Regions from separate parts of the Homo sapiens genome. Here regions 1, 2, 3, 4 and 5 are each linked to region 6. The links are contacts of gene promoters, found by promoter capture Hi-C in blood cells and fetal thymus (Javierre and others, 2016). All regions are on one chromosome and are shown on one strand. The core of a region is centred on a gene start or on the middle of the fragment in contact, and the rest is flanking DNA. Distances in the headings are between cores, read along the strand shown.

What was found. Contacts are between HindIII fragments. The CHiCAGO score rates a contact against its expected background, and 5 or more counts as called.
Region 1: a contact is called between a fragment that was not itself captured here and the fragment with the promoter of TIMP4 in region 6, in 1 of 17 cell types (monocytes). The highest score is 5.2, in monocytes.
Region 2: a fragment that was not itself captured here is called in contact with the fragment with the promoter of TIMP4 in region 6 in 5 of 17 cell types (M1 macrophages, endothelial precursors, monocytes and 2 more); the score reaches 7.9 in M1 macrophages.
Region 3: a contact is called between a fragment that was not itself captured here and the fragment with the promoter of TIMP4 in region 6, in 15 of 17 cell types (M0 macrophages, M1 macrophages, megakaryocytes and 12 more). The highest score is 11.6, in M0 macrophages.
Region 4: a fragment that was not itself captured here is called in contact with the fragment with the promoter of TIMP4 in region 6 in 1 of 17 cell types (endothelial precursors); the score reaches 5.5 in endothelial precursors.
Region 5: a contact is called between a fragment that was not itself captured here and the fragment with the promoter of TIMP4 in region 6, in 1 of 17 cell types (endothelial precursors). The highest score is 6.2, in endothelial precursors.

The regions. Positions count from the first base shown.
Region 1 is chr3:12,416,191-12,418,890 of GRCh38, forward strand. It overlaps PPARG (peroxisome proliferator activated receptor gamma), which reads left to right. Exons shown (of 8, transcript NM_138711.6): 7 at 514-964. Among named protein-coding and RNA genes, the nearest start is that of TSEN2, 67 kb to the right of the region's middle. The HindIII fragment of the contact is 9,374 bases long and covers 1-2,700 here.
Region 2 is chr3:12,487,937-12,490,636 of GRCh38, forward strand. It overlaps TSEN2 (tRNA splicing endonuclease subunit 2), which reads left to right. Exons shown (of 12, transcript NM_025265.4): 2 at 1,848-2,053. The coding sequence starts at 1,865. Among named protein-coding and RNA genes, the nearest start is that of TSEN2, 4.8 kb to the left of the region's middle. The HindIII fragment of the contact is 5,707 bases long and covers 1-2,700 here.
Region 3 is chr3:12,469,701-12,472,400 of GRCh38, forward strand. No RefSeq gene overlaps it. Among named protein-coding and RNA genes, the nearest start is that of TSEN2, 13 kb to the right of the region's middle. The HindIII fragment of the contact is 5,789 bases long and covers 1-2,700 here.
Region 4 is chr3:12,539,501-12,542,208 of GRCh38, forward strand. It overlaps MKRN2OS (MKRN2 opposite strand), which reads right to left. Exons shown (of 4, transcript NM_001195279.2): 3 at 2,360-2,522; 4 at 276-933. The coding sequence ends at 693. It also overlaps a transcript of TSEN2 not described here. Among named protein-coding and RNA genes, the nearest start is that of MKRN2OS, 4.6 kb to the right of the region's middle. The HindIII fragment of the contact is 624 bases long and covers 1,071-1,694 here.
Region 5 is chr3:12,508,253-12,510,977 of GRCh38, forward strand. The region is part of intron 6 of TSEN2 (tRNA splicing endonuclease subunit 2); the gene reads left to right. Among named protein-coding and RNA genes, the nearest start is that of TSEN2, 25 kb to the left of the region's middle. The HindIII fragment of the contact is 1,822 bases long and covers 359-2,180 here.
Region 6 is chr3:12,157,658-12,160,357 of GRCh38, forward strand. TIMP4 (TIMP metallopeptidase inhibitor 4) reads right to left here and starts at 1,255. Exons shown (of 5, transcript NM_003256.4): 1 at 1,045-1,255. The coding sequence starts at 1,183. The region is part of intron 5 of SYN2 (synapsin II); the gene reads left to right. The HindIII fragment of the contact is 8,121 bases long and covers 1-2,700 here.

The sequences.
Region 1 (2,700 bases), core at 97-2,596, 260 kb after region 6:
CAACATGGTGAAACCCCATCTCTACTAAAAATACAAAAATCAGCTGGGTGTGGCAGTGCATGCCAGTAATCCCAGCTACCCAGGAGGCTGAGGCACAAGAATTGCTTGAACCTGGGAGGTGGAGGTTGCAGTGAGCCCTGATTGTGCCACTGTAATTCAGTCTGGGCGCAGAGTGAGACTCTGTCTCAAAAACAAACAAACAAATAATATAAAAATCAACAATGAAGACTCCCCAAACAAAAGAAATCAGGATTCTTAGCCAGTCATAGGTAAAGTGTTACAGTGTAAATTGAAGGGAAAGAAGACCAAAATTGGTGAAATATGTTTGGTCCCAGAAGATAATTAAGATGAATAAAAGAACTTGAGAGTATTTTCTCATTATTAAGCATCTTCAGCTTTAAAGATTTTAGTTAGCAAAGCAAGTTTACATAAACAGTTTTCTGAACCTGGGATGGCATTCACTGTGAGTTAGAAATCTCCAAGTCATCCACGTTTTCCCTGTTTTATTTGCAGCCATTCGTTATCTATGACATGAATTCCTTAATGATGGGAGAAGATAAAATCAAGTTCAAACACATCACCCCCCTGCAGGAGCAGAGCAAAGAGGTGGCCATCCGCATCTTTCAGGGCTGCCAGTTTCGCTCCGTGGAGGCTGTGCAGGAGATCACAGAGTATGCCAAAAGCATTCCTGGTTTTGTAAATCTTGACTTGAACGACCAAGTAACTCTCCTCAAATATGGAGTCCACGAGATCATTTACACAATGCTGGCCTCCTTGATGAATAAAGATGGGGTTCTCATATCCGAGGGCCAAGGCTTCATGACAAGGGAGTTTCTAAAGAGCCTGCGAAAGCCTTTTGGTGACTTTATGGAGCCCAAGTTTGAGTTTGCTGTGAAGTTCAATGCACTGGAATTAGATGACAGCGACTTGGCAATATTTATTGCTGTCATTATTCTCAGTGGAGGTAAGATTTGTCTTTTGATCTTCTATGAAAGAGGGTGGGATGATGGTGGGGTGGCCAAAAGAATTTTGGATTTCCTTAGTGTTAGTCTGCATTGTCACTTTAAGTGCCAGTGGCATGATGCCATGAATCATCACTACACGTGCAAAACACTGTACCAAGAAAGAGTGTCATAGGTTTGCGGTGTGAAGGTTATAAGTAACCCAGGATCTTCTCTTTCATCCCTCAACAATATATTTTTTCCAGTCAAATGCCCTCTTCTCCTTTTTCTTTTTCTTTTCTTTTCTTTGTCTCTTTCTTTTCCTTCCAGAAAGGAAGATTAGAGGCCAGTCTAATCTTTGGTTCCTGTAAGTAATGGCATGTATAACTTTGCTTAAGACAATGCTCACTTGATGTAGAGAAGGGACCACTAAGTATTTCTGGTCAAATCATGCTCCTGCCCCACCATCAGTAAGATACTACTTTGAATTGCTTTTGTGATATCAGGAATTAAGGAATACCTACTGACCTCCACCCACTCTCTTGTGTGGATTCCTCTGATGGCTTCCCTTAAAGTACCTTTGTGAGGTAGTTGGTTGTGATTAAGAATGCAATGTGAACCGAACACACAACATAGAAATAAATTTAGTTATTTAGCAATTTGTTGTATTTTTGGCCCTGCAAGTAGTACATGATCTGACTAACCAATTCCAAAAGCCAGATTTTCTTCTGAGTGTGACTTTTTTCTTTTTTTTTTCTTTTTTTTTTTTCCTTTTTTTTTTTTTTTTTTTTTTTGTGAGACAGGGCCTCACTCTGTCACCCAGACTGAAGTGCAGTTGCACAGTCATAGCTCACTGCAGCTTCTAACTGCAGTTAGTAAGCTATGATCATGCTACTTCATAAAAGTAATACGTGGCCATTTTACAGTTGGGCTCAAGTGATTCTCCCACCTCAGCCTCCCAAGTAGACAGGACAACAGCTGCACACCAACATGCCCTGCTAATTTTAAAAATTTTTTTGTAGAGATGAGGTCTCATTATGTTGCCCAGGCTGATCTCAGATTCCTGACCTCAAGCAATCTTCTCACCTTGGTCTCCCAAAGCGCTGGGATTATAGGCATAAGCCACCACGCACAATCTAAACATTACTTTCATTAGCCTCTCATGAGTAGAAGAAAGTTTTACTTTCATCTCTCTGTATAAAAATTGTTTTTAAGTGGCAAGTTTTCCTATTGAAGTGGACTTTAGGTGAGCTTTTTGTATGTACTCTACAGTGTATCCTCTGTGAAAAACCCGTCGGGGGATAGTGGTAAACTGTATATAACTGCACAATGTATTATAAAGAGCACGATCCCTTTGTCATCTTTTGTTGTCCAGTTGAAAGGAGAATGTTTCTGAAATCAGGTGCATAGTGCAGTAGTCATAAGAATAGCAAACATTTATTTAATACTTGCTGTGTGCCAGGCAGTGTTCTAAGCACTTCATGCATATTTATTCAATCCTCACAACAATTCAGGGAAGTAAGGACCATTTTACAAATGAGGAAACCAAAGCACTGAGAGGTTTTCTCATTTGCGCAAGGTTACGTGGCTAGCAAAAGATGGAGACAGGATTGTGAGCCAGGCATGCTGGCTCAGACTCTACACTCTCTACCATCACATCATGCGGAATACCGGCCTTTAAATGCCTAGGGTGCAAATAGATCACAGTATGGCATAGTTTACCTTTGGAGCTGTGAAGTCCAGGGTCAAGTCGTGATTC
Region 2 (2,700 bases), core at 135-2,634, 330 kb after region 6:
AGAACAATGGCAATTCTAGGAAGGTTCCAACTTCCCGATTCTTCTTTTTCATGGTTATCTTTGTAATTGATGTATCATTTCCTCTAACTCCTCTTTAGTCTGTGTTTTTCTGTGTCCTCATATAATTCCTCAGCTTCTTCCTTGAGAAGTTGGATACTGATATCATCACACGTTGGATAAGCCTTTTCTTAATGGTCATGACACTCTTAAAGCCACTCACCTTCCCCTCCCTCAGTTTTGGCCACCTTCTTGACTGTTTCAGGCTTGATGGCATCCCTTGCCAATGGGATGCAAGTACTGAGTGCAGGAGCCACCTAAGTAATTAGTCTTATTTTTTCCCTTGTGAGGATTCGGAGTCATGTAGGTTAAACGTGTGTATGATTTGGCCGCACTGTATCTTCAAGCACCAGGTAAGCTCTCAGTTGAAATCAAGTCTAGACCTAGTACTGGGGGAGCAGCAGATTCAAGTTTCCCATCTCATTCCAGGACAGCTGCTCCTCGAGTGGAATGTCTTGCACCATTTACATTGTTTTCCCATGTATATGGTTACGTTTTCCTAGGTTAAGTGCATCTACTGTATCTCTGTGTCTGCATCACACAATATGTTCACATTTACTTCCCTCCTTTAGACATTAGTGGATAACAGCCAGTTCCGTTAGCTCCAACCTGCTTTCTGTGCTTCCAGCTATGTTATATACTTGTTTTGTCTCCTTGGATCCAATGTATGGCCCCAGAGGGACACGTACTGGCTTTGGCTTTCTGTTCTCCCTCATGGTGCTGGGTGCACAGTGGGTAATTCCGTTACTGCTCAATAACCCTTCACCGTCTGATTTTGAGAAAGAGTCATCAGACAAAAGTAGATAGACCCTGCCTGTGCTTTCAGCAGAATCTAGAGAGAGGGCATGGGCTTGGGAGTTCAACAGACCTGGGTCACCCGATGCCACCACACTCGGGGTCGTCTACAAATCTCTCTAACCTGAATCTGTTTCCTATTTGTAAAATGGTGTTGCTACTGCTCACCCTGTAATACTAATTATAGCTGATACATGAATGGTACACGCTATGTGCCAGGTACTGTTCTAAGCACTTTATGGATCTTAACTGTAAGATAGAGTCGTTCTTATCTTGATTTTGCAGGTGAGGAAACTAAATCACAGAGAGAGTCAGTGACTTTTGCCCAAAATCACACTGCTAGGAAGTGGTAAAGTTGATTCTGATGCTGATAGTCTGGCTTTAGAGTCCCTGCTTGAAGCCAGTAGCATTTGGTAGTATATAATCGACCCTTAAATAACTGCTGCTGTCATTATTATTTATTAATGTACTTTAAAAATTGGGAGCTGATTGACCCAATGTTTAGTGTGTATTGTAAGATCCTCTTGGAAAATGAAGTGCCTGCAAGATTTAATTTGTTGAGGACAGGGTCTCAGTTTTGTCTTTGTCTCCCCAGCACCTATGATTATTAGGAATTCCTGGTAGTAAATGTCTGTTGGGTGAGTGAAATGGAAGCACTCCTGGTAGACAGAAATCCTGTTGTGCTTGCTCTCAGGAGACCTAACATTGCAGCTTTGGGCATGTCACTAGGTCTCAGCGTTGTCAGCTGGAGTAGAAAGATTACCACTCATTTCCTGGGGTTTATTGTGGGGATTAATTGCAGTATTCTAGGTCAATATGATTTACATTGCTCACACAAACTGTTCTTACTGCTTTTAGTTTATTGCTTTATAAATACTCTATTTCTTCCCACAGACCACTAAGTTTTCTGAGCCTAGGTACAGATGTACTCACATTTTGGATCAAGGTAGTTATTGATTGTCTGTTTCTTTCTGTTTGTTGTCTACTCTTTAAAGAATACCTCCTCTGAAAAATGGCAGAAGCAGTTTTCCATGCCCCAAAGAGGAAAAGAAGAGTGTATGAGACTTACGAGTCTCCATTGCCAATCCCTTTTGGTCAGGACCATGGTCCTCTGAAAGAATTCAAGATATTCCGTGCTGAAATGATTAACAACAATGTGATTGTGAGGAATGCGGAGGACATTGAGCAGCTCTATGGGAAAGTAAGTGCAGGCAGCCTTGGTAAGATTACTTTCAGACAACCCTGAGCAAGCAGTCCTTTCCTTCTCCCCATCCCAGCCATACCCCCACACCAACCATGAACAATGTGTATTCTTTCCTTGCGGTTTGGTCCAGTTGTAGGAAAAGTACAATTTGAATTAGTGCCCAAAAGCCATATGTTAGGGTAATAGAATGACAGATGGAGCACCCCTGCCCACAAACCTTTATTTCAGTGATGAAGTAGGTTCAATGGATTGACTATTTTTTTTGTCTTTAGTTGTAAAAGCAATGCATGTTTGTTAAAGGAACAAAAAAAGTAATTTACAGAAATGTAATGGGTAAAAAAGTGAAAATTCCCCACTCACTCCCATCCCGTTCCCAGAGGTAGCCACAGCGTGGCATAGTGTCCCTACTCAGGCACGGATCAGATGGGGCTTTGGCATGGAGCTCCTTATCTGCTGCCTCCTGGTTGGGGACCTCTTCTCAGATGAGGACAAGTTCTAGTTTTTACTGTTTTCCAGCATTGATCAAGTTGAATGAAGACTGGTAGTTCTTTAAAAAAAATTTTCCATAATCTGTTCATTGCTGTGGGCATTTTTAAAAAACAGCTTTATTGAGTTATAATTTACAACTATAAAGTCCTCCCATT
Region 3 (2,700 bases), core at 76-2,575, 310 kb after region 6:
TAAAAATACAAAAAAATTAGCTGGGCATGGTGGTGGGTGCCTGTAATCCCAGCTACTTGGGAGGCTGAGGCAGGAGAATGGCGTGAACCTGGGAGGCGGAGGTTGCAGTGAGCCGAGATGGCGCCACTGCACTCCAGCCTGGACGACAGTGTGAGACTCCATCTCAAAAAAAAAAAAAGAAAAGAAAAGAAAAAAGAAAAAAAAGAAATAGATACAGGTCATTTTATTATAGAAGCTCATGTTAAACTTCACGTAATTAGCCCAGAAAAGAAGCTCACGTCACGCTGAGTGGTGATGGCAAGAGTAGCTGGCATTATTGAGCACCCGCTCCCAGCCAGGTACTACGCACATCATCCTCAAACCTCTCAGTGTCCTTGCAGGGGTAGCCCTGCTTTCCCCATTTTACAGATGAGCGACCCGTGGCTTAGGAAGATCATGTCACACAAATGCCCGCAAGTGCAAGCTCTCGATTTTTCTAATCCTTGAGAGTGGATGCTTTTTCTCTTCATCTATTTTGTCTTGGCTGATGGCTGGTGATACAGCTTTCTACAATTGGACCAACTTTCCCTGCCCAGCTCTTTCACAAACATTCCAGGTGGATTTATCATCCTGTGGGCTATATGGGACATTCTTATTCATTAATCTGCAGCAGAGCCCAAAGACAAAAGCAAACAGGAGACTCCATTCATTTAAAAAAAAAAGTGAATTAAATAGTACTCATCAAAAGAACTTGGTCAGGCCAGGCTTGGTGGCTCACGCCTGTAATCCCCACACTTTGGGAGGCTGAGGTGAGCAGATCACCTCAGGTCAGGAGTTCAAGACCAGCCTGGCCAACATGGCAAAACCCCGTCTCTACTAAAAATACAAAATTCAGCCAGGCATGATGGCGTGCACCTGTAATCCCAGCTACTAGGAAGGCTGAGGCAGGAGAAGCGCATGAACGTGGGAGGTAGAGGTTGCCGTGAGCCAAGATCATGCCACTGCACTTCAGCCTGGGTGACAGAGCGAGACTCCATCTCAAGAAAAAAAAAAGAACTTGATAGAGCTTTAAAAAATGCATTTACAAATTCATTTCTCCTCTTTACTTCATTAGCTCAAATAACATATTCTTTTCTGATAGCAAGGCCCAGAAAGCTACCACCTGCTGCTGTTTCTGCCTCTTCTGGCCATTCAACAAGTGTTCACTGATGACTCTCGGGAGAAAGTCAAGGCACAGAGATGAATAAGGCCCAGGCCCCGCCCTGCAGACCCCCAGGCCACTGGATGACATCCCTCCTGAAAGAGCAATGAATGCCAGGCCTTGTCTGATAAGAGCTATGGAAAGGCTGTCATGAAAGTGCAGAGAAGACAGAGGGCTTTCCTGCCTAAGGGAATCAGGTGAGGCTGAAGGATGGGTAAGAATTGGACAGGAAGACACAGTGAGGAAGGGCGTCTTGGAGGGCCCAGTTTCTTCCTCTCCATCGTTGTGGCTGATAGACATTGCATATGCCAGGACTGTGCCACCCACTGTATCCACATCGCTCCTGCTGAGGCTGCTACCACCCCCACCCCCACCTTTCAGATGAGCAACTGAAGTTCCAAGAGGCTAAGCCGCTGCCCAAGGTCCTAGGTGCGTTCCAGAAGCAGGCTTTGAATCCAGCTCTCTTGGCGCCCCTGCTGTTAGGTTGATTTACTGTTTTCAAAGAACCTTCAAACACGTTATCCCATTTCATCTTCCTGTGCCTGGGGTTTCTCTATGTCTCACCAGCCTGTTGGCACAGATGAGTCACCCTGCCCGTAATAACGTGAATTTTACTCTCCCAGCCTCCCCCTCTGCTCGCTCACCCCGGTCCTCCAGCCACCTGCACAGCCTCGCCCACTTCTGGCGGGAGTCCCCGGGGTGTCTGTGATCTCCTTTTCCTCCTCAACCCCACTCATTCAAGTTCACTGCCCAAGGAGGCAGCTGGAGGTCACTCCTCTTCCCTCCATTCCCGGTGTGTGTTGCTTCGAAAATTCTTTCCCAGCACCAGGGCTAGAGTAAGGTGGCTGGCGAGGAGAGGGGAGACCATGGTTCTACTACCCACTGAGTGTGGGACCTCAGTGGCCGCCGTCATCATCCTTCTGGGAGCCTCAGGTTTCTTATCTGTGAAAGGAAAGGGGTTCAGTTTCATACATGTCCCTCTGAGCAGCGGTCAAATGTGATACAGTAAACCAAGGGCCCTAAGGAAATTGGAGAATCAGCTCCCAGCACTCCATGGGACACACACATCAGCAGTCACACCTCCAGGCCCCATGTGTTGGGGGTAAGTGCCATAAGGGAATGAAACTGGTGGGAAGGGCTGTTCCTGGCTCGGGGGGCCCATATGGAGGCCGTTCCTCCAGGCCTTAACACAAGCCAGATCCTGCTCTCAGAATTCACCAGCATTACCCACAAGTCCTCCCGGGGGCCAGCTGTGGCAGGAACCAGTTGAATTCCCATGTTAGAGACAAATAAACTGAGGAGGCTCAGAGAGGCAAAGTCACTTGTCCAAGGTCACACAGCTAGTCAGTGGTAGAATCCGGTAGAACTGGGTCTGAGGGCCCCCCCGTCAACCCAGCCTCTTAACTGCTGTCTTCACAGAAAAGGGGCCAGTACATCCTGGCACTGAAAAATCAGCGCAGCCGTTCAGCACTACCCCTGCCTATAGGAATGATTCTCTGGATAGAATCATTCGTCATTTC
Region 4 (2,708 bases), core at 133-2,632, 380 kb after region 6:
ACCCACCTTGCTGTCTTCACATCCCCACTTTCTGTATGCACATTGGAAGGTGAATTTGTTCAGCTCACATTAATTTATAGGAATAATTTTCATTGCTCTGTGAATAAAATGTGCTACCACTTTATGCTGTAAATGGATTCTTAGTTTAAAAACCTCATTGATATGAAAATAATTTTGTTGGAATGCATATAATTTTTAAAACCTAGGGCAATTTTTATTTTATGAAGTCTTATGATGTAGTAAGCTGACATATGCTTGAAGGAAAGCCATACACGTTTTTATTTTTTATTTTTTATTTTTTTGAGATGGAGTTTCACTCTTGTTGCCCAGGCTGGAGTGCAATGGCACGATCTCAACTCATCCCAACCTCCGCCTCCCGGGTTCAAGCGATTCTCCTGCTTCAGCCTCCCTAGTAGTTGGGATTACAGGCATGCGCCACCATGCCCAGCTAATTTTATATTTTTAGTAAGGACGGGGTTTCTCCATGTTGGTCAGGCTGGTCTCAAACTCCCAACCTCAGGTGACCTACCTGTCTTAGCTTCCCAAAGTGCTGGGATTACAGGTGTGAGCCACCATGCCCGGCCCATACACGCTTTTATTAACCACAGTTAAATGCATTTAGAAATCCATAGTACTGATTAAAGGTAGCAACCACCCTACCCTCCAGCGTCCAGGCTGCGCTTACATAGCTCTCAGCACAAACCGCCGCCCTCAGGGGGTTGTGCCTGCTGCTGGGGACAGTCAGTGACGTAGAAGCCATGCTCCCGTATCGCCCGGTAGAGTGTGATGAACTTGGATGCCAGCCTTGTCCGCGGGACCACGTACTTCTCCGTAAATTCACCCTTGTCCAGTTGCTGTCTACCTTCTGCCATCAGAACGCAGTTAATGAACGTGAGTGCGTAAGAGTAGCAGTTATGGTGGTTGTCTTCATACCTTATGGAGGAGAATAAGGGTGTTGAGAAGAAAAGGCTGCTCAGAACAGGCTGTCAAGCTACTGAAGGCCTTTCCTAACTGAAATCGGGTGCCTCAGCAAGCAAGGCCCCTGCATGTGCTGGCTTATGTGGTTAAGAAGCTTCAAGATGTGCACTTCAGGCCGGGTGCGGTGGCTCACACCTGTAATCCCAGCACTTTGGGAAGCGAGGGTGGGAGGATCACTTGAGGTCAAGAGTTCGAAACTGGCCTGGCCAACATGGTGAAACCCCGTCCCTACAAAAAATACAAGTTAGCTGGGCATGGTGGTGCACGCCTGTTGTCCCAGCTACTTGGGAGGCTGAGGCAGGAGAATTGTTTGAACCGGCGGGAGGCAGAGGTTGCAGTAAGCCAAGATCGCACCACTGTACTCCAGCCTGGGTGACAGAGTGAGTAAGACTCCATCTCAAAAAAAAAAAAAAAAAAAAATGCAATTCTGGGGGATGCTTGGTCTCTTGGGCCGTTTCTGCTTGCTGCAGATTGGCATAGACTCACCCAGATGTTCAGAGTGGTTACTCAGTTGCAAGTTAACTACCAATTTGGGGAACTTATTGAACTTCTAGAGTTTAGAGATGGAATTCCATATGAGTTTTATGATATTCCATAGTATCTAAACTTATTTCGGGGGAAACCTCCAAATAATTTAAATCCACAAACATGCTATACGTCTTACAAAATGTTGAGAGTGAGAAATTAACTGGAAATTGCTAAAATTACAAAAAAGAAGCTTTTACATTTTGAACATTGGTTTTTGTGTTTTTTTGTTTTTGGTGAGACGAAGTCTTACTCTCTTGCCCAGGCTGGAGTGCAATCGTGTGATTTCAGCTCACTGCAACCTCCGCCTCTTGGTTCAAGTGATTCTCCTGCCCAAGCCTCCCAAGTAGGGACTACAGACGTCCACCACCACGCCTGGCTATTTTTGTATTTTTAATAGAGACGGGGTTTTACCATGTTGTCCAGGCTGGTCTCGAACTTCTGACCTCAGGTGATCTACCTGCCTCAGTCTCCCAAAGTGCTGGGATTACAGGCGAGAGCCATTGTGCCCAGCCTGAATATTGTTTTTTTTAATTTTTAAGGAAATATAATATCGTGACTTGCTATTTATGTGTAAAAATACCTTGTCACATAACTAAAATAACTGAATACAGGTTCTAGACCTTTCAGCTCTTACAACGCTGTGATTTTGTTGTATGTGTATGCTGACCCACCTCTGCAGAAAACCTAGGGTAGTTCAACCTCTGTTTAAATTCTGTTAGAGATGCTAATATGTCTGTATCGGCTCAACATGAAGCTAAGTGCTGCTGAGTCCTCTGTGAGCTGAGGCTACACGGGGATCCCACTTGCATAGCATGTGAGTGTCAGCGAGGGGGCAGCATTTGCAGTCGTGTACCTGTGAGGCAGCCAGGCCCCCGAGGTGGAGAAGTCTTCCAGGTACTTGTCCCATTGCTCCATCATTCCATACATGTTGGGCTGCAGTAATGGGATGCTTATGCTCTCTTCCCACCCTTCTCCGTCTCGCTGGACACCATGTGCACTGTAATTATACACAACCCCTGCAAATCAAAACCAAAGTCATGTGGAGCCCCAAGGAAACACACACCTCTGTGAAAAAGAGACATCAGAAAATGACAGTAGCCATGTGGTAACTTTACGTAACATAAATCCAGGGTGGAGGTTCTAGAATCTTCCATCCACCTAATGAGATTTAGATTTGCCTACAGTCATGGAGGGATTTTTGT
Region 5 (2,725 bases), core at 20-2,519, 350 kb after region 6:
TCTTGAACACCCCCTGATGAAAGGCAAGAGTAATAGGAGACAGGAGATGAGGTTACTCTGCCTTCTTAGAAGCTGCCTGGCACCTGAGAACATTTCAGAGATGTGTTCCAGAAGTTTTCAGGGAGCACACCGTTAAACCTAGCTCTACTTGTCTTTCTGTTTTGGCAGATTTCTTTTGAATGAATCACCTATGTTTGGTGCACTGCATGTACCCGCGGAGTGTTTCTGTGAATGTTAGTCAGGAACACAGGCAGAATGGGGTCTCACCCCTGCTGTGGTGATTCACAACAGCTCTCTTAAGGGACTCAGAGTGGTGATACACAGCTAACTTAGAAGTCTGCTCAGCGCTGACATGGGAAGCTTTTAGTCTGCAACCTTCCACAGATGTGGACATGCGGCCTTGTAGGGGTGTTTTCATGCCTTTGCCTTGACTCATTCAGAACAGAGATTTGGAAATTTTCATAGAGTAATTGAAGAGCTATAAACTGTATTTACCTCAGTTATTTCTGAGTAGTTATTTCTGAAGAGTTCTGTCTCCATCCGTCTTCTGCATCCTTCAGTGGACACGCACACACGCAAACACTCAAATGCTTTGCTCTTCAAATTTTTTATTCTTATATTTTTTAGAGACAGGGTTTCTCTCTGTTGCCCAGGCTGGAGTGCAGTGGCACCATCATAGCTCACTGAAGCCTCATACTCCTGAGCTCAAGGTATCCCACCACCTTAGCCTCCTGAGTACCTAGAATTACAGGTGCATGCTACACCATGTCTGGCTAATTTTTTAATCAAATGCTTTTTAATTAGCAAGATCCAGTGAGAAATAGATTGATTTGGGGGAGCAAATTTTTTTTTAAATGAAAGTTGATTTCACTGTAAAGTAAAAGCAGTTGCATAATGCTGTCATGAAGTTAGGGCTGTCAACTTTGGGGGTTTTTTTTGGTTTTTTTTGTTGTTGTTTTTTTTTTTGAGACAGGGTCTCGCTCTGTCACCTAGGCTGCAGTGCAGTGGCGTGATCTCAGCACACTGCAACGTCTGCCTCCCGGGTTCAAGTGATCCTCCCACCTCAGCCTCCTGGTAGCTGGAACTACAGGCATGCACCATCACACCCAGCTAATTTTTGTATTTTTAGTAGAGATGGAGTTTCGCCATGTTGGTCAGGCTACTCTCTAACTCCTGGCCTCAAGTGATCTGCCCGTCTTGGCCTCCCAAAGTGCTGAGATTATAGTCATGAGCCACCACACGCTGCCAGGCAGTCAACTTTTGAAGGTTAAGGAGCTTTAACGTTTATATTTCCCAAGTTCAAAGTAGATGTGTTTAATTTTACTGTGTGTGCTGTTGGGAAACTGATGGGAGGTGATTTAATAGGGGTGGTGCAGACCAGCTCACTCATTCCCAGCAAGATTCCCACCATGGCAGCACCCCAGTAAGGCCCTGCATTCCAGGTCTAATCCTTTGCTTGAGGGACTAAGAAGTTCGGATTTGTTAGAGCACAGAAAATGACTTGAGCTCTAGGAGCAGCATTCATGCTGAGTGTGCTCACAAGAGCCTGGGGAATAAACTAGAATGTGAGTTTATTAACATCAGCAAAGGCCCCACCACCTGCCTTTCCATATTGGCATGTTCTCTTCATGTAGAAAATTCAGATGCCGAAGGGTAATATAATTGGAAGGCTGCTTGGTGAGCACAGAGTTAGCCTGTGAGGAGTGAGCTGGATAATACAAGTGCTTAAGGATGTCAGGCTCATGTGTCCTTCTCCCCAAGGAGGTATAAACTGTTTTTTACTTGATACTGAAGATTCTAAGATTGTTGTATGACTTTCAATTAATTATTTTACTTAATGTGGTAGCATGCATTCTTTTTCTTGAAAAGCCACCATTGAATTGAGGTATATCAAAGAGCTGCTAACATCTAGACTGGAGGCAGTGTGGTGCATGCATTGGTCTGCCACCGAACCCTTGGGTCGGAGTCCCATCCTGTGCGCAGTGCGAAGACCTTGCCACCGTCACCAGACTCCCCATTTGCTGAGTTTCCTCACTCACTCTGTGTCACATTCTTTAACTGTGTTGATATCATTCAGCTGTGGCTCTGAGTTTGTTGATACATGTCGATTTCTTAGTCTAACTCCAGTTTTAGAGGCTGCCTTACTGGTACTTCTGTGTATTGTTCGTATATACTTATAAAGCTTTTAAAGTGCGTGAGAAAATTTCTCTTATTTAGAAAATAAAGACAATAGTCCCCACACAGGAGGACCAGGTGGGAATGCTTGGAAACAAAGGGACACACCAGGGTCGGGCGACAGCTCTCCTCGTGCCTGACAGCAGCAGTCTCAGTCAGATCTCGTTTACGCATCGTCTTGTGCCCGGCTCTTCCATTTTGTACCTCACCCGTTTTTCCCACATTTCTTTTCCCGTGCTTAGTGTCCATAATATGGATTCCAAGTATCAGAATCTGGTGATTAGAATGTCTAAGATTCTTCCCTAGAATTTTGTGGTTATTTTTTTACTGCTACGTTGTTTGACTAGTCTCCCTCCCCTGCAATAGGTCAGTGACTTTCCTTCTATCTAAACTTCTGAAAATTTTCCAGAGACTTCAACTGTGAGACAGTTTGGGTCCTTTTAGCAAGAATATATACTTACAGCAGAGCCTTTTGATTAAGGTTTGAAAAACTACTCTAATTTCTCTCTATAAATATATTTATATTCTGCATATATACCCAGACACACAG
Region 6 (2,700 bases), core at 5-2,504:
TCACTGGAAGTTCCAAACCCCTCAGGCTTATTAGGTCCTATAACCGCTAAGCTGTTTCTGCCTTTTGAACCAGTTAGTCTGGAGAGCTCTAGTTCTCCATAGCCGTTTGTGCAGTGGGGCACAGGGTAGGAGTCAGAGTAGAGAAGGGAGGAGGAGCCCCTTCAGGGCAGTCGGTGTGAAGTTTATCTATTGCTGTGGTCAAGGCCTCTCATCCCGCCTACAGTTGATATTAGTAAATGTTTATTGAATTCATAAATGTTCTGACCCTGCACTGAGGTATTGCATCTCTTGCCATTTGAGCATTAATAACCAAAAACTGTTGATGATGTTCTTCCTCTGTGCCTGGCCTTGCACTAGGCACTAGGCCCATAGATGTGATTAAGACAGGGTCCCCATCCTGCCGAGCTCTTGATCTAGTGGAGTGCACACGTGTAAAGAACAACAGCACAGCATAGTAGGAGCGCTAAGACGGTTAGAGATGCTGAGGCGGCACCAAGGAGCCCGGGAGCCTGCAGAGAAGGGGAGAGACCTAAGTTAGCCCTTGAAGGATGAGTAGGAGTCTGCCAGGAATTTAAGGGTGTGAGGGAGGGCATTCCAGGCAGAGGGAAGAGAAAGGACAGAACGTGTGTGTTGCCATAGGGGCTTGGTGGCAACCTCAGTTATAGGCCTGGACAGACACGGGTAGTTACAATGCAAGCCCTCTCCCCTCCCCTTTCTGTCCCCAGTCTAGTAGTTCAGAATAATCATCAGATAGCTCCGGTGACACCTTGTGTAATGACACTCCATAATTGCAGTATGGCCGGAGTGAGGGAGGTCGCTATGGAAGTCCCTGATGAAATCTTCATTTCCTTATGAATCAGTCAGGTTCTGGGCTTGCAAGGTTGCTATGGCGCCTGGTCCTTCTCCACCCATCAGCCTCAGCAAGAGACAACCGGTAAGAATTTGAGCTCCTCCCTTTTCCTCTGGACTCCTGGTGTACTGCTGGCCAGATACTAATCCCCCACAACCACCCCCTGCTGTGGACCTCGCGGACCTCGGACTCACCAAGTGCCGAGTGGCAGATGTGCTGCTGAGGGTGCGCCGGGGCGCAGCTGCATGCCTCACCCAGCCCCGGGGGCCGCAGCAACGCCAGCAGCCGCAGCAACAGCACCCAGCTTGGCGCGGGCCGAGGGCTCCCAGGCATGACACTGCAGATCCGCGACTGAGCCTGTGAGGTCTGGGGGACTGGACGGCCCCAGCAGGGCTCCTTCCCAAGGCCGTTGTGCCCCTCGCCCCAGGCTTTATGAGGTGGCCCTAAGGGCCAATCCCGCCCCGACGGGCTCCGCCTTCCTTTGGCTCTAGGCCACCCGCGGAGGCAGGACCCGAGGCTCTTCCGACCTGCATACTCAGTAAGATGCAGAGGGAAGCCTGGAAGGAGGCCCTGACCTCTGTTTCCCTGCCTAAGTCATGAAGCGATCTGGAAGCAGAGGGGAAGCACTGGGAGAGGGGATGGTGTCAAGGGCAGAAAGACGGAAAGAGCCACAAAGACAAATGCATGAGGACAGAAAAACTGAGGGCTGTGATTCAGGCAGAAAGAACAAGAGTGAGGAGAGGCACAGACAGAAAGAGTGAGACAGGCAGAGTCCCAGAGAGGCAGACAGAATTACAACAGGCAAAAGAGACAGTGACAGAGAAGGACGGACCCCTTGCTGAGCTGCACGCTGGGAATGAGACGAGCTACTCAGGGCTTCTTTCAGCTGCAGGAAGTGCTTTCAATGCCCTATTTATGAGGCTCCAAAGCAACAGCAAACAGTAATAGAACAGGACAGAGAAAGTTGGGGTGTGTGTGTCTTGGCTCTGTTGCCTGGGGGGTGGGGAGAGATGTCAAAGAAGCAGCCAGTGCTTTAGAAACCCTTTCTCACTCCCAGAGCCTCAGACTCTCCAGATAGCTGGAGACAGCGCTCTTGGTGTACAAAACACAAAGTGTCCCATCACTTAGGGCAAACCTTGGACCTCAAAGCCCTCTCGAGGCCCTAGACTACATTGATTTTTATTGCATGTCCCTTCTCACTGGAGACTCTGTCATGTTCTAGAAGGTGGGACAGCTTAGAAAACAAAGAAGCAGGCTGGGCGTGGTGGCTCACGCCTGTAATCTCAGCACTTTGGGAAGCCAAGGCGGGTTGATCACCTGAGGTCAGGAGTTCGAGATCACCCTAGCCATCATGATGAAACTCCGTCCCTACTAAAAATACAAAAGTTAGCCGGGCGTGGTGGCCTACACCTGTAGTCCCAGGTACTCAGGAGGCTGAGGCAAGAGAATGGCTTGAACCCAGGAGGCGGAGGTTGAAGTGAGCTGAGACTGTGCCACTGCACTCCAGTCTGGGCGACAGAGTGAGACTCCGTCTCAAAAAAAAAAAAAAAAAAAAAAAAGTAAAAGAAAAAACAAAGAAGCAGGGGACTTGGGGGTGACTGTGACCAGAGCCTTGTCTGCTGTTTGGGCACAGTGTTGCAAGCCTCCAAATCCCAAATCTCCATGGGATTATTGCTGTGGGATGTTTCCACATGGTGCTGGACTGGATAGTGGGAGGCTGGGTTCCAATTCTGACTGTCACTGTAGCTTTGTGACTTTTGCCTCTCTGGGCCTCAGTTTTTTCTTCATAAAGTAGAGTTGAACTACGTGATTTCTAAAGCCCTTTGAAGTTCTTCTTCCCATCCTTGGCT